4 separate regions of the Homo sapiens genome follow, and all the other regions are linked to region 2. Evidence: promoter capture Hi-C in human tissues and cell types (Jung and others, 2019). All regions are on one chromosome and are shown on one strand. Each heading gives the region's core, a stretch centred on a gene start or on the middle of the fragment in contact. The rest is flanking DNA. Distances are from core to core; before and after follow the strand shown. Region 1 overlaps ZIK1 (zinc finger protein interacting with K protein 1). Region 2 holds the start of USP29 (ubiquitin specific peptidase 29). Region 3 has its middle 9.0 kb from the start of ZNF416. Region 4 has its middle 4.8 kb from the start of ZNF548.

Region 1 (2,953 bases), core at 333-2,832, 470 kb before region 2:
AATGTTGGCAAGCAATGAAGGCTGTGGCAATTTGAGACAACAGCAACACTGGTGGAAATCACAAGAGCTATCAATACATCCCTGGCCTATAGGACTTCTGTTATCTTTATCCTCCTTTTTCTGCCTCTACAGCAATGCACTTGAGGTGAACAACCTAGAAAACCAACAAGAATTAAAAAATAAAACCCTTTAATTATTTTTGCTGAAAATAACCTCAGCTATTGGACATACACAGATTTCTAGGTCCTATGACTGCTCAAAGCCACAGTCACGGGAAGATTTGTAAATGTACTTTTATAAGAGGCACATTCCAACTAGTTTGCTACAGTACACACAGTACAGAAATACCCAGGTATTTCTGTACCAATTACAGTTCACATGTGACTCGCGTTGTCTTCTGCGTGACATCGGCCTATGGAATGTTTGATATCAGGGCATGCCTCCTTATAGAACCCCATGAAAAGCTTCTCAGCAGCACTGGGCATCATATGACATCCTCTGGAAACAATGGAATAAAATTGTCCTATTCCCTGAAGCACACATGCTTGTCATAACAGCTGGCCTCTCCTCAGGATGACCTCTAGTCTCACAGAAAGAATAGGGATCCAGGCCACAAATTAGAATAACCAAAACCTTGCATTTTTTCCTAGGAGATTTTAGGTAGCAAAGCAAGTATGACCAAAACCAGAATTAGAATTACTCTGTCATCTTACTTTCCTGCAGAGGCCCACAAAAGCCATCCATTCCTTCATATAGAGTTGAAGTCTGTCTCCCAGCCACCCCACACAGTAAACAGAACCCCAAGACTACAGGTAGATTCAAATATAAGGCTTTTATTAGTGCACAAACTGGAGCAATGTGAGGCAGCCATTCACCACGTGGTGACATGGAGGCTGGAAGAATGACCAAGTGTCATGTGAGACCAAGAATTTACATGAAGGGAATCCTTGCACATAAGTGTCCAGCAGAACCAAGGCTGGGCCCTCCTGACCCAAACTGGGTCACACGTATGCTGTGATCAGTCAGAAAAAAGAATGAATTTTCTCTAAAGGCTTAGACTGCTCAAGATTTCCTCCAAAGACTTAAGAGAACACACAGATGTCTGCCTTGTCTTAGCACATAGGAGTGACCAGTGCCCACTGTGCAAGGTGGTAGAGGGTAGATGGTTTCTACCAGAGAAACAAGGAAGAATGAGGTTCAACTTCAGGCAGATGGCTCCCTCACAAAGGCTCTCTACTGCTACAATACTACAGAGACAGCACTTTCCCTGTAGGTCTAAGGCTCTACTTAAGTGTGGACTTTCAGGAGCTAAATGATGATAGATCTTGAGTTGAAGGCGCTTCCACATTTGCTGCATTCATGAGGCCTCTATGTGTTATGACATTTTTGGTGATGTATGAGGCTGGAGCATTGGCTAAAGGAATTCCCACATTTGTTGCACTCATAAGGCCTTTCTCCAGTGTGAACCACTTGGTGTTGAATGAGACCAGACTTTTGGCTAAAGGACTTTCCACACTGGCCACACTCATAAGGCCTTGCTCCAGTATGAATTCTCCGGTGTTGAATAAGGATGGAGCTTTGACTAAAGGATTTCCCACAGTCACCACACTTATAAGGCCTTTCTCCAGTGTGAACTCTCTGGTGTTTAATGAGGGTAGCTTTTTGACTAAAGGATTTCCCACACTGGCCACACTCATAAGGCTTTGCTCCAGTGTGAATTCTTCGGTGTTGATTAAGAATGGCACTTTGACTAAAGGAATTCCCACATTCACCACACTTATAAGGCCTTTCTCCAGTGTGAACTCTTTGGTGTTTAACAAGGGTGGCTTTTTGGCTAAAGGATTTCCCACACTGGCTACACTCATAAGGCCTTGCTCCAGTGTGTATTTTCTGGTGGTCAACAAGGCTGGAGTTTTGTCTAAATAATTTTCCACATTCGCTGCACTCATAAGGCCTTTCTCCGGTGTGGATTCTCCGATGATCATTCAGGTGGGAGGTTTGGCTAAAGAATTTTCCACATTCATTGCACTCCCAAGGCCTTTCTCCAGTATGGACTCTCTGGTGCTGAACAAGTGAGTACTTGCCACGGAAGGCTTTCCCACATTTGCTACACTCATAAAGCTTTTTTCCAGTGTAGACTCTTGGATGGTAAACAGGAGTGTGTTTGTGCCTGGAAGCCTTCCCACATTCACCTGACTTGTAATGACTTTTTTGACTGCGAATGTCCTCCCCACATTCAGTAATTGTGCCGGGTTTCTTGCCTCCAGGAAAGACCAGGGACCTCAGAAGCCGCAACATGGCTGGAAGGTCCTTTCCAACCTCCCATTTGCGAAAGGGCTTCAATGACATACAGAATAGGCAGCACTTCACATATGAGGCTCTGTCCATGTCCCTCTTCAAGGATTTCTTTGCACTGTGATGCTTCTGGTGCTGGTGATGGTTTGTACATTCTCCAACCAAGTATGGTTTCTGCCCAGGGAGATCAGCTAGATGCAAAATATCTTTCAGGACTGGGACACACATCTCACAGGATTGAGTCTTCTGTGTGGATGAACCTGCCTTTGACTGTGACACTCCTACAGAAACATTCTGGTCAGAAGGTGTCTCTTCATCCTCTGTTCCATGGCCACAACCTGAAAGCAGAGAACCGCTGATGAAATATACATTGACTATGCTGAGAGCAAGAAGCCCCATTACACACATACCAAACGAATGATTCACCAGGTTTGTTTTGAGGATAATGGAGCTGGGGGCAAGTTGAGGAAGGGGTTGCTTTGCAATACTGGATCTCTAAAGATCACAGAATGAGGGAGGCCTCACCAAATAAAGGACACAAGGATGGGATGAAGGACAGGGAATGGCATTGCCTTCAAACCATTCCTCTACCAACAGCCTCAAAAATTATCCTTGAGTAGCCTTCCAATTCCTAAAACTCACCACATAGTCTTCAGGA
Region 2 (2,721 bases), core at 70-2,569:
ATAACATATATAAGTATATATAACATATATAAGTATATATATAACATATATATCCTACATTTTCAACACGTGTAACAAATGTGGATAGTTTCAAAAAGATCATTTTACGTTCTAGTAGTTACCCTGTTTGACCAAAGTGTAGTACTTTTATTTTTCTATTGCAGTGCATTTTCTTTTTTTTTTTTGGCGGGAGGTGAGGGAGCGGAGCGGGGATGGAGTCTCACTCTGTCACCGAGGCTGGAGTTTAATGGCGTGATCTCGGCTCACTGCAGCCTCTGCTTCCTGGGTTCAAGTGATTCTCCTGCCTAAGCCTCCTGAGTAGCTGGGATTACAGGAGCCCGCCACCACGCCTGGCTAATTTTTTGTATTTTTAGTAGAGACGGGGTTTCGCTATGTTGCCCAGGCAGTCTCGAACTCCTGATCCGCCCGCCTTGGCCTCCCAAAGTTCTGGAATTACAGGAGTGAGCCACCGTGCCCGGCCTTTTTTCTGTTTTTTTTTTTTTTTTTTTTTTTTTGAGACGGAGTCTCTCGCTCTGTCGCCCAGGCTGGAGTGCAGTGGTGTGATCTCGGCTCACTGCAACCTCCACCTCTGGGGTTCAAGTGATTCTCCTGCCTCAGCCTCCCCAGTAGCTGGGATTACAGGCACCCACCATCATGGCCAGCTAATTTTTGTATTTTTAGTAGAGACAGGGTTTCACCTTGTTGGTCAGGCTGGTCTCAAACTCCTGACCTCAGGTGATCTACCCGCCTCGGCCTCCCAAAGTGCTGGCATGACAGGCGTGAGCCACCGACCCAGCCCTTTTTTCTTTTATATAGTTTTTGAGACAGGGTCTTGCTCTGTTGCCCAGGCTGGAGTGCAGTGGTGCGATCATACCTCACTACACCCTCGATCCCCAAGGCTCAAGTCATCCTCCAACCTCTGCCTCCTGACTATCTGACACTACAGGCGTGGGTAATTTTTAAATTTTTTTGAGACATAGTCTCACTTTGTTGTCCAGGCTGGAGTGCAGTGGCATGATCTCAGCTAGCTAATTTTAAAATTTTTTGTAGAGATGGGTGGGGGGAGGGTCTCACTATGTTGCCCAGGCTGGTCTCCAACTCCTGGGCACAAGCGATCCTCCCGCCTCGGCCTCCCAAAGTGCTGGGATTACAGGCATGAGCCTGGCCAGCATTTTCTGTTTGAATGTTTTTACGTAACCGGAGTCGTCATGATGGAGGTACAGTTCCTTGGACTTCCGGCTCCCATGGCTCTGGAAATCTCAGCTCGGACCCGCCCCTTCCGGCGCCGACTCCCCTGATTCTCCTGGGAACAGAAGAGTTCTGGGCACAGCACGCTGCGTCTGCGCAGTGCCGGGCGCAGGCCTCCCGACCTACGGGTCTAGGTACGGGCTCTAGCGTGGCCGGGGCACATAGAGTTCCTGGCCTAGAGCTGGTGGGGCGTAACGGCAGGAGTTAGGGTTCAGAGAAAACCAGCCCAGGGGCGGGTTCATCCTGTTACCCATTCAGCCTCAAGCGAGGTGGGGTGTGGTAGGTGGGCTGGTGCTAGAAACCACGCCGGGAATTGTTAATAACAGTCATCCCGGCCGGGCGCGGTGGCTCACGCCTGTCATCCCAGCACTTTGGGAGGCCGAGGAGGGCGGATCACCTGAGGTCAGGAGTTTGATATTAGCCTGACCAACGTGGCGAAACCCCGTCTCTACTAAAAATACAAAAATCAGCCGGGCATGGTGGTGGGCGCCTGTAATCCCAGCTACTCGGGAGGCTGAGGCAGGAGAATCGCTTGAACCCGGGAGGCGGAGGTTGCAGTGAGCGGAGATGGCGCCACTACAATCCAGCCTGGGCGACAGAGCGAGACTCCGTCTCAAAACAACAACAAAACCCCCAAAAAAGCGGTCATCCTCCAGGTGGAAGAGACAGAAGAGAGGGTGCGGAAGAGACTTAAAAGTCTTAGGCCTTCAAGCGTGTTTGCCTCAGCCACCCGTGAATCCTACAGGAAAACTAAAACAACTCGGCCACAAGCCCCCAAGTCTTGGGGAAGCGGACGGTTTCCCAGCCGAGCTTTAGGAGGAGGCGCCGCGGGACCTCACGGGTGACGTCGTCCCCGGGGGTAGTTTGCGCAGAGGGTCGCTTTGGGCGCGCTTAGAGTCGCGTGGTGCCTGGGCCAGCGAAGCCCAGGTGCAGTCATTTGTGGCCCTGTCCCGGCGCGCGAGGGGCCAAGGCTGGTCGGGGGCCGGGTCCGCGCGGTAGCAACTGCGTCCTGCCAGCTTCCATCTCTCCCTCTGAGGGCCTGAGCGGCTGCCAGAGTCAGGTCTGCAGGCCGGGCGCTCACGCGTCTGTGCCCAGTGAGGCCCCAAGATGCTGGTGAGGCCTCGACCCTGACTGGTGTCCAGGCTCTTGACACTGTCGTGAGAAGGAATTCATGGATGAGCAGAACAAAGTGTGGAGATTCATTGCGACGGGAATAAGTACGTACTGAAGAAAGAAAAGTGCAGGCATACCACAGAGCATCACGCCCAGCGGGGTTTGGAGCTACCTTTAAATATTTATTTAACCAAGGGGTGGAATATTCATGAAGATTCTTGGAAAAAGGTAAACATTTCTTGGTACTGCGGTGCCACACATTTTTATACTAAATACGGGTGTTCCCCAGAGCTGTCACAGTGGGTGTGTGACTTAGTATGTTAATGAGCACATAATGAGAGGTCCTAGGTGAAACGGGTC
Region 3 (2,902 bases), core at 128-2,627, 450 kb before region 2:
TTTTGTTGTCCTAATTTATGGCCTGGATCCCTACACTTTCTCTGGACCAGAGGTCATCCTGAGGACAAGTCGGCTGTTATGACAGGCTCCTGTGCTTTAGGGAATAAGATGGATTTATTGCATTGTTCTACAGGCTGTAATGCCCAGCACTGTTGAGACGAAGCTTTTTCCCAGCTTCTGCAAAGGAACCTATGTGCCCTGATGCCCATGATTCCATAGATGGTGGTACTCAAGCTGATGGGAGCTAAGCATGGGACATAATTGGTACAGAAATTTTGGGTATGATTAATAGAAAGTGGAGGAGGTAATAGCAAAACAAATGTGCCTGTGGTAAAAGTGCATCTACACATCTAGTAACTGGCTGTGTCTATTTTTACAACACACACAATCTCCTTGTACAAGGTGTGACAGTGTAGGCATAGCCTGGCTTAGAGGGAACAGCTCCATTCTGCAGCATGATTGTCAGAGCATGGAGCCAGGCAAGCAACCTGGAGGATTACTTGGGATGATTTAATGTGAGTGCAGGAGGACATGTGGGAGGTAGAGAATCAGAAGGAGCCTGGGTAGCAGAAACCTTAACTTGGAAATGACATCCCCCATCATAGGCTTTATCCTCTGCCACAGTTACCCTATTTTCAGAGGCAGTGTCCCTCACCCTTGTGCCCTACATGGAGCTCAACCCTCAGATGTCCTGGTTCTCTGTGCCTTTCCCAGTGACCAAGCAATAGGTTCTAATATCTAACAGTCTGAGGTCAACTTTCTGTTTGACTTGCCAGGCATTGGTGCCTTTCAAGGTCATGGCCCTGACCTTCATCTGGTAGAAATGTGGATATTTGGGCCTGGCCCAGAGGACACTGCACCAAGATGTGAGGCTGCAGAACTGTGGGCTCTTGGTCTTGCTGGGTAAAGCTTTATTTCTGTCCCATGTGGGTGACCCTAGTCCTCTGATTCCATCCTCTTGCACATACTGCCTGGTGAGAAAGGCATCTCAAGCCCTTCTCCCTCTACCCACAGGTCCTGTTGTATTCTCTGTTTTGGTCTCACATGCTTTTGCCTGGTCTCCCTGTGTCTGCACTGGGGATCACTGGGGTAGAAACAGCCCTTTAAACACAAATCCTCACCCTAGTGCCCAGCACACTCTGCCCTCTGTCTGAGGTCCTTATTCCAGAATTCAGGCAAGAAAACTTGATCTAGCCTGGTTGGGTCAGGTATCCCCAGAGATTGGTTAACAGGACTGTGGGTAGTGGATTATTCTCGAAGAAGGGGCTGAGCTAGGCAGGACTCCAAGGTAGCATGTCCATCAATATCCCCCAGGTATCTTATTATATAATGCTGCCTCTTTTTTTTTTTGATGGAGTCTCACTCTCGCCCAGGCTGGAGTGCAGTGGCATGATCTTGGCTCACTACAAACTCCACCTCCCAGGTTCAAACGATTCTCCTGCCTCAGTCTCCTGAGTAGCTGGGATTATAGGCGTGTGCCACCACACCCGGCTAATTTTTGTATTTTTAGTAGAGATGAGGTTTCACCACGTTGGCCAGGCTTGTCTCAAACTCCTGACCTCAGGTGATCCAGCTGCCTCGGCCTCCCAAAGTGCTGGGATTACACGCATGAGCCACTGCGCCCAGCTGCTTTTTTATTTTTTAAAGAGCTCCTTATGTCAGCATGAATTATCCTCATTTCCTGAGGCCTAAGTTATATTCTTCCAGTGGTAAGGGAGATGGTTTTAGAAAGCACAGAGGTAGGACATCAGGTGGCGTTGTAGGGCAGGTGAGCCCCAAAATTGGGGCTTAGTCCAAGAAGGTTCTTGGCTTCACTCAGGAAAGAATTCAAGAGCAAGCTAGTGGTAGATGGAAAATAGCTTTGTTGAGGCAGCAGGGTTACAACTCTGTGGCTGCTCCTACAGAGCAGGGCAACCCCATAGGCAGTGTGTCGAGTATCAGCTCAGGGGGCAGCTCTGCAATCATATTTATACCCGCTTTTAACTACATGCAAAGGGTGGGTTATTTGGAAATTTCTAGAAAAGGGATGGTAATTTCCGGGTGTTGTCATGGTGATGGTAAACTGCCATGGCACTGGTGGGTGTGTATTATGTAGATATGCTCTTGGTGCCTGTTCCCTGTTTCAGCCAGTCTTCAGTCTGGTATGGAGTCCTGCCTCCTATCTCACTCTCCCATCAGAGATTAGATACTCCTCTTTAATCTTAAGGGGGCTCTGTGACTGCTTGCTGCTGATTTTGTGGGCCTAGGCCCTGCCTAGCACTAAAGGAGTAAACATCCCTGGATACCACATATAAGGTCCCCAAAGGAAGGACACTTCCATTCTCTGGAATAGTAGACAAGGATGGGTTGGAAGCCTTGTGCCAGCATTGTCTTTACCTGGAACTAGAACAGGATACCCCAACCCCTCTCCTGTGGATACTGGTCCATGTCCTGTTAGGAACTGGGCTGCACAGTAGGAGGTGAGTGGCAGGTGAGTGAGCATTACTGCCTGAGCTCCACCTCCTGCCAGATCAGTGGCAGCATTAGATTCTCATAGGGGTGCTAACCTTATCATAAACTGTGCATGCAAGGGACTGGGGTTGCACACTCCTTATGAAAATCTAGTACCTGATGATCTGAGGTGGAAGAGTTTCATCCTGAGACCAGCCCCCAGCCCCAGCCCCACATACCCCATCCATAGAAAAATTGTCTTCCATGAAACTGGTCCCTGATGCCAAAAAGGTTGGGGACTATTGATCTAGAAAACACAAACTTTACTAAGAGGTTAAACAAGCAAGAGCCAAAGAAAATATACATAACAGGGTCACTTGCTTATAGATCTTTTGAATGTTAACCTATCCAGAGTTGCTAATATATGTGCAGCAGGTTTTATTAACTGCACAGACTTTACCTTGTTCCGCTA
Region 4 (2,782 bases), core at 228-2,727, 260 kb before region 2:
AACTCTGCTGCTTCTGAAAGTCCTCAGTCCCTGAAGGCCAGCCTTCCTAAAAGCTCATATAATAGCAGTTTTGGCTTTGTTTGAGGAGACTGCCTGACCACTACAGCTCTGCCCTGCAGACAAATAGGAATATCACTTTTTTTCCCTTGAGATATCAAAATCTATTTATTCTTTTTTTTTTTTTTGAGACGGAGTCTCACTCTGTCGCTGGGCTGGAGTGCAGTGGTGTGATCTCGGCTCACTGCAACCTCCGCCTCTCCGGTTCAAGTGATTCTCCTGCCTCAGACTCTCAAGTAGCTGGAACTACATATGCACGCCACCACGCCCAGTTAATTTTTTTGTATTTTTAGTAGAGACGGGATTTCACCATGTTGGCCAGGATGGTCTCGATCTCTTGACCTCATGATCCGCCTGCCTCGGCCTCCCAAAGTGCTGGGATTACAGGCATGAGCCACCACGCCTGGCCCCATTTATTCTTAATTGAATATAAATTATTACTTATATTTTAATTATATGAATATAATTTAAAAGTTTGCAAGCTTTCAATGGTTCCATCTGTTTGTAATTAGTTATGAGTTTGGATATGAAATGGTAGACTAACTGACCCAGACATACATTGTAAAATCCAACGTTTTCTCCAGTGTTTTCTTTTTTCTTTCTTTTCTTTTTTTTTTTTAAGATACAGTTTCACTCTGTCACCCAGCTGGAGTGCAGTGGCGCAATCTCGGCTCACTGCAACCTCTGGCTCCCAGGTTCAAGTGATTCTCATGCCTCAGCCTCCCAAGTAGCTGGGATTACAGGCGCGTGGCACCATGCCTGGCTAATTTTTTGTATTTCTATTAGAGATGGGGTTTCGCCATGTTGGCCATACTGGTCTCGAACTCCTGACCTCAAGTGATCTGTCCGCCTAGGCCTCCCAAAGTGCTGCGATTACAGGCATGAGCCACTGTACCCACAATGTTTTTCAACTCTTGTAGAAGTTGCTATTGTCTATATTTTGAGTATATTGAATGCAAAAAATGTCAAAATGCAAGTTTATAATTTATGATGAACTGAGGAGTATTTAAAATTCCCTTTGAAGGTCTTCGACTCTATGTAATTGCCCATTGACTAATGAAAATGGTGGACAGTCAAATATATATTAACTTTGGAAGGTGCATGATTTTCTCAACTAGTTCCAAAGAAAGAGACAAAATAACTTTTTTGTTAAAATCAGATGGAGATGGTAGAATAATTATAATAGAGTTTGTAATGTTTTCTACACTGTTTATCATCATGAGTCTTTAGGCTCAGAATGCTACTGTTGAGTGTGTTTCTCATTAATGAATGTCCAATAGATAAAGGAATGAAATAAGTTGAATATGACAAATGACGAAGGTTTGTCACAACATAAATGGCATCAAGACTGTAACTGCAGGAATTCTGTAAGCAAATTATATAAAACAAGGAATTGTTAAGTAGAAGCAAATTATCAGGGAAAGAGTTATGTCATTAGAACTGTGATCCCCAAGCTTTTTAGTACCAGGGACCGGTTTTGTGGAAGACAATTTTTCCATGGATAAGGGAGAGGGGTTTGGGGGCAGATGGTTTCAGAGGCATTAGATTCTCATAAGGAGCATACAACCTAGATCCCTCTCTTGTGCAGTTCACAGTAGGGTTTGCACCCCTATGAGAATCTAATGCTGCTGCCGATCTGACAGGAGGCGGAGATCAGGCAGCAATGCTCACTCATCTGCCACTCACCCTCTGCTATATGGCCCCATTCCTAACAGGCCATAGTACTCATCTGTGGCCCCAGGGGTTGGGGACCCCTGATTTAGAATGTATTTCAGATAAACAACAAATAATTTTATGATGAGTATGTCACATACAATATTTATCTTTTATCTCACTGCACATATACATAGGGAATTAGAAATAATTCAAATTTAACCAGGTCAAGTATCAGTTACAAAATTTGACAATTCTTTTCATCGTAATTTTTTTCTGAACCTATGCATTATATTGAGCATCCTCATTTTTGAACCTAGTAACTCATTCACAGAATTTCTGCTACCCTTCTTCTTTTTTCTTTTTTTCTTTTTTTTTTTTTGAGACAGAATCTTGCTCTGTCACCCAGGCTGGAGTGCATTGGCGCGATCTCAGCTCACTGCAACCTCTGCCTCCCGGCTTCAAGCGATTCTTCTGCCTCAGCCTCCTGAATAGCTGAGATTATAGGCGCCCGCCACCATGCCCGGCTAATTTTTTTTTTTGCCCTGTCGCCCAGGCTGGAGTGCAATGGCATGATCTCAGCCCACTGCAACCCCCTCTTCCCGGGTTAAAGCAATTCTCCTGCCTCAGCCTCCCGAGTAGCTGTGATTACAGGCACGCACCACCACGCACAGCTAATTTTTTGTATCTTTAGTAGAGATAGGGTTTCACCATGTTGGCCAGGCTGGTCTCGAACTCCTGACCTTATGATCTGCCTGCCTCGGCCTCCCAAAGTGCTGGGATTACAGGCTTGAGCCACTGTGTCTGGCCACTTCTTCTTAATTGTAAATTCTGCTGGTTGGGGGCCCTTTGTTCCAAGGAAGGAGAGGTTCCACCAGAAGTAAATATTATTACATTTAATTGAAGGGTGATACAGCTACTTGTTCATCTGGGGATCCTTGTGTCACTTAAGCAAGAAGGGATTGCTTTTTTGCTTTGGATGAGTTAGGCTGAGTTGCTGCCATGGAATGGGAAGCATAGAGAGTTATGTCTGAGACCAGGGGATTTCTGGGGGATGTTTTGGTAAGTTCAT

What was found. Contacts are between HindIII fragments. The study calls those that stand out against the background at their distance.
Region 1: a contact is called between a fragment that was not itself captured here and the fragment with the promoter of USP29 in region 2, in 1 of the 25 tissues and cell types used here (dorsolateral prefrontal cortex).
Region 3: a contact is called between a fragment that was not itself captured here and the fragment with the promoter of USP29 in region 2, in 1 of the 25 tissues and cell types used here (neural progenitor cells).
Region 4: a fragment that was not itself captured here is called in contact with the fragment with the promoter of USP29 in region 2 in 3 of the 25 tissues and cell types used here (adrenal gland, dorsolateral prefrontal cortex and spleen).

The regions. Positions count from the first base shown.
Region 1 is chr19:57,589,691-57,592,643 of GRCh38, reverse strand. It overlaps ZIK1 (zinc finger protein interacting with K protein 1), which reads right to left. Exons shown (of 4, transcript NM_001010879.4): 4 at 1-2,633. The coding sequence ends at 1,369. Among named protein-coding and RNA genes, the nearest start is that of ZIK1, 7.0 kb to the right of the region's middle. The HindIII fragment of the contact is 6,497 bases long and covers 1-2,953 here.
Region 2 is chr19:57,118,583-57,121,303 of GRCh38, reverse strand. USP29 (ubiquitin specific peptidase 29) reads right to left here and starts at 1,319. Exons shown (of 4, transcript NM_020903.3): 1 at 1,075-1,319. The HindIII fragment of the contact is 14,839 bases long and covers 1-2,721 here.
Region 3 is chr19:57,568,466-57,571,367 of GRCh38, reverse strand. No RefSeq gene overlaps it. Among named protein-coding and RNA genes, the nearest start is that of ZNF416, 9.0 kb to the left of the region's middle. The HindIII fragment of the contact is 3,705 bases long and covers 1-2,902 here.
Region 4 is chr19:57,383,674-57,386,455 of GRCh38, reverse strand. No RefSeq gene overlaps it. Among named protein-coding and RNA genes, the nearest start is that of ZNF548, 4.8 kb to the left of the region's middle. The HindIII fragment of the contact is 6,124 bases long and covers 1-2,782 here.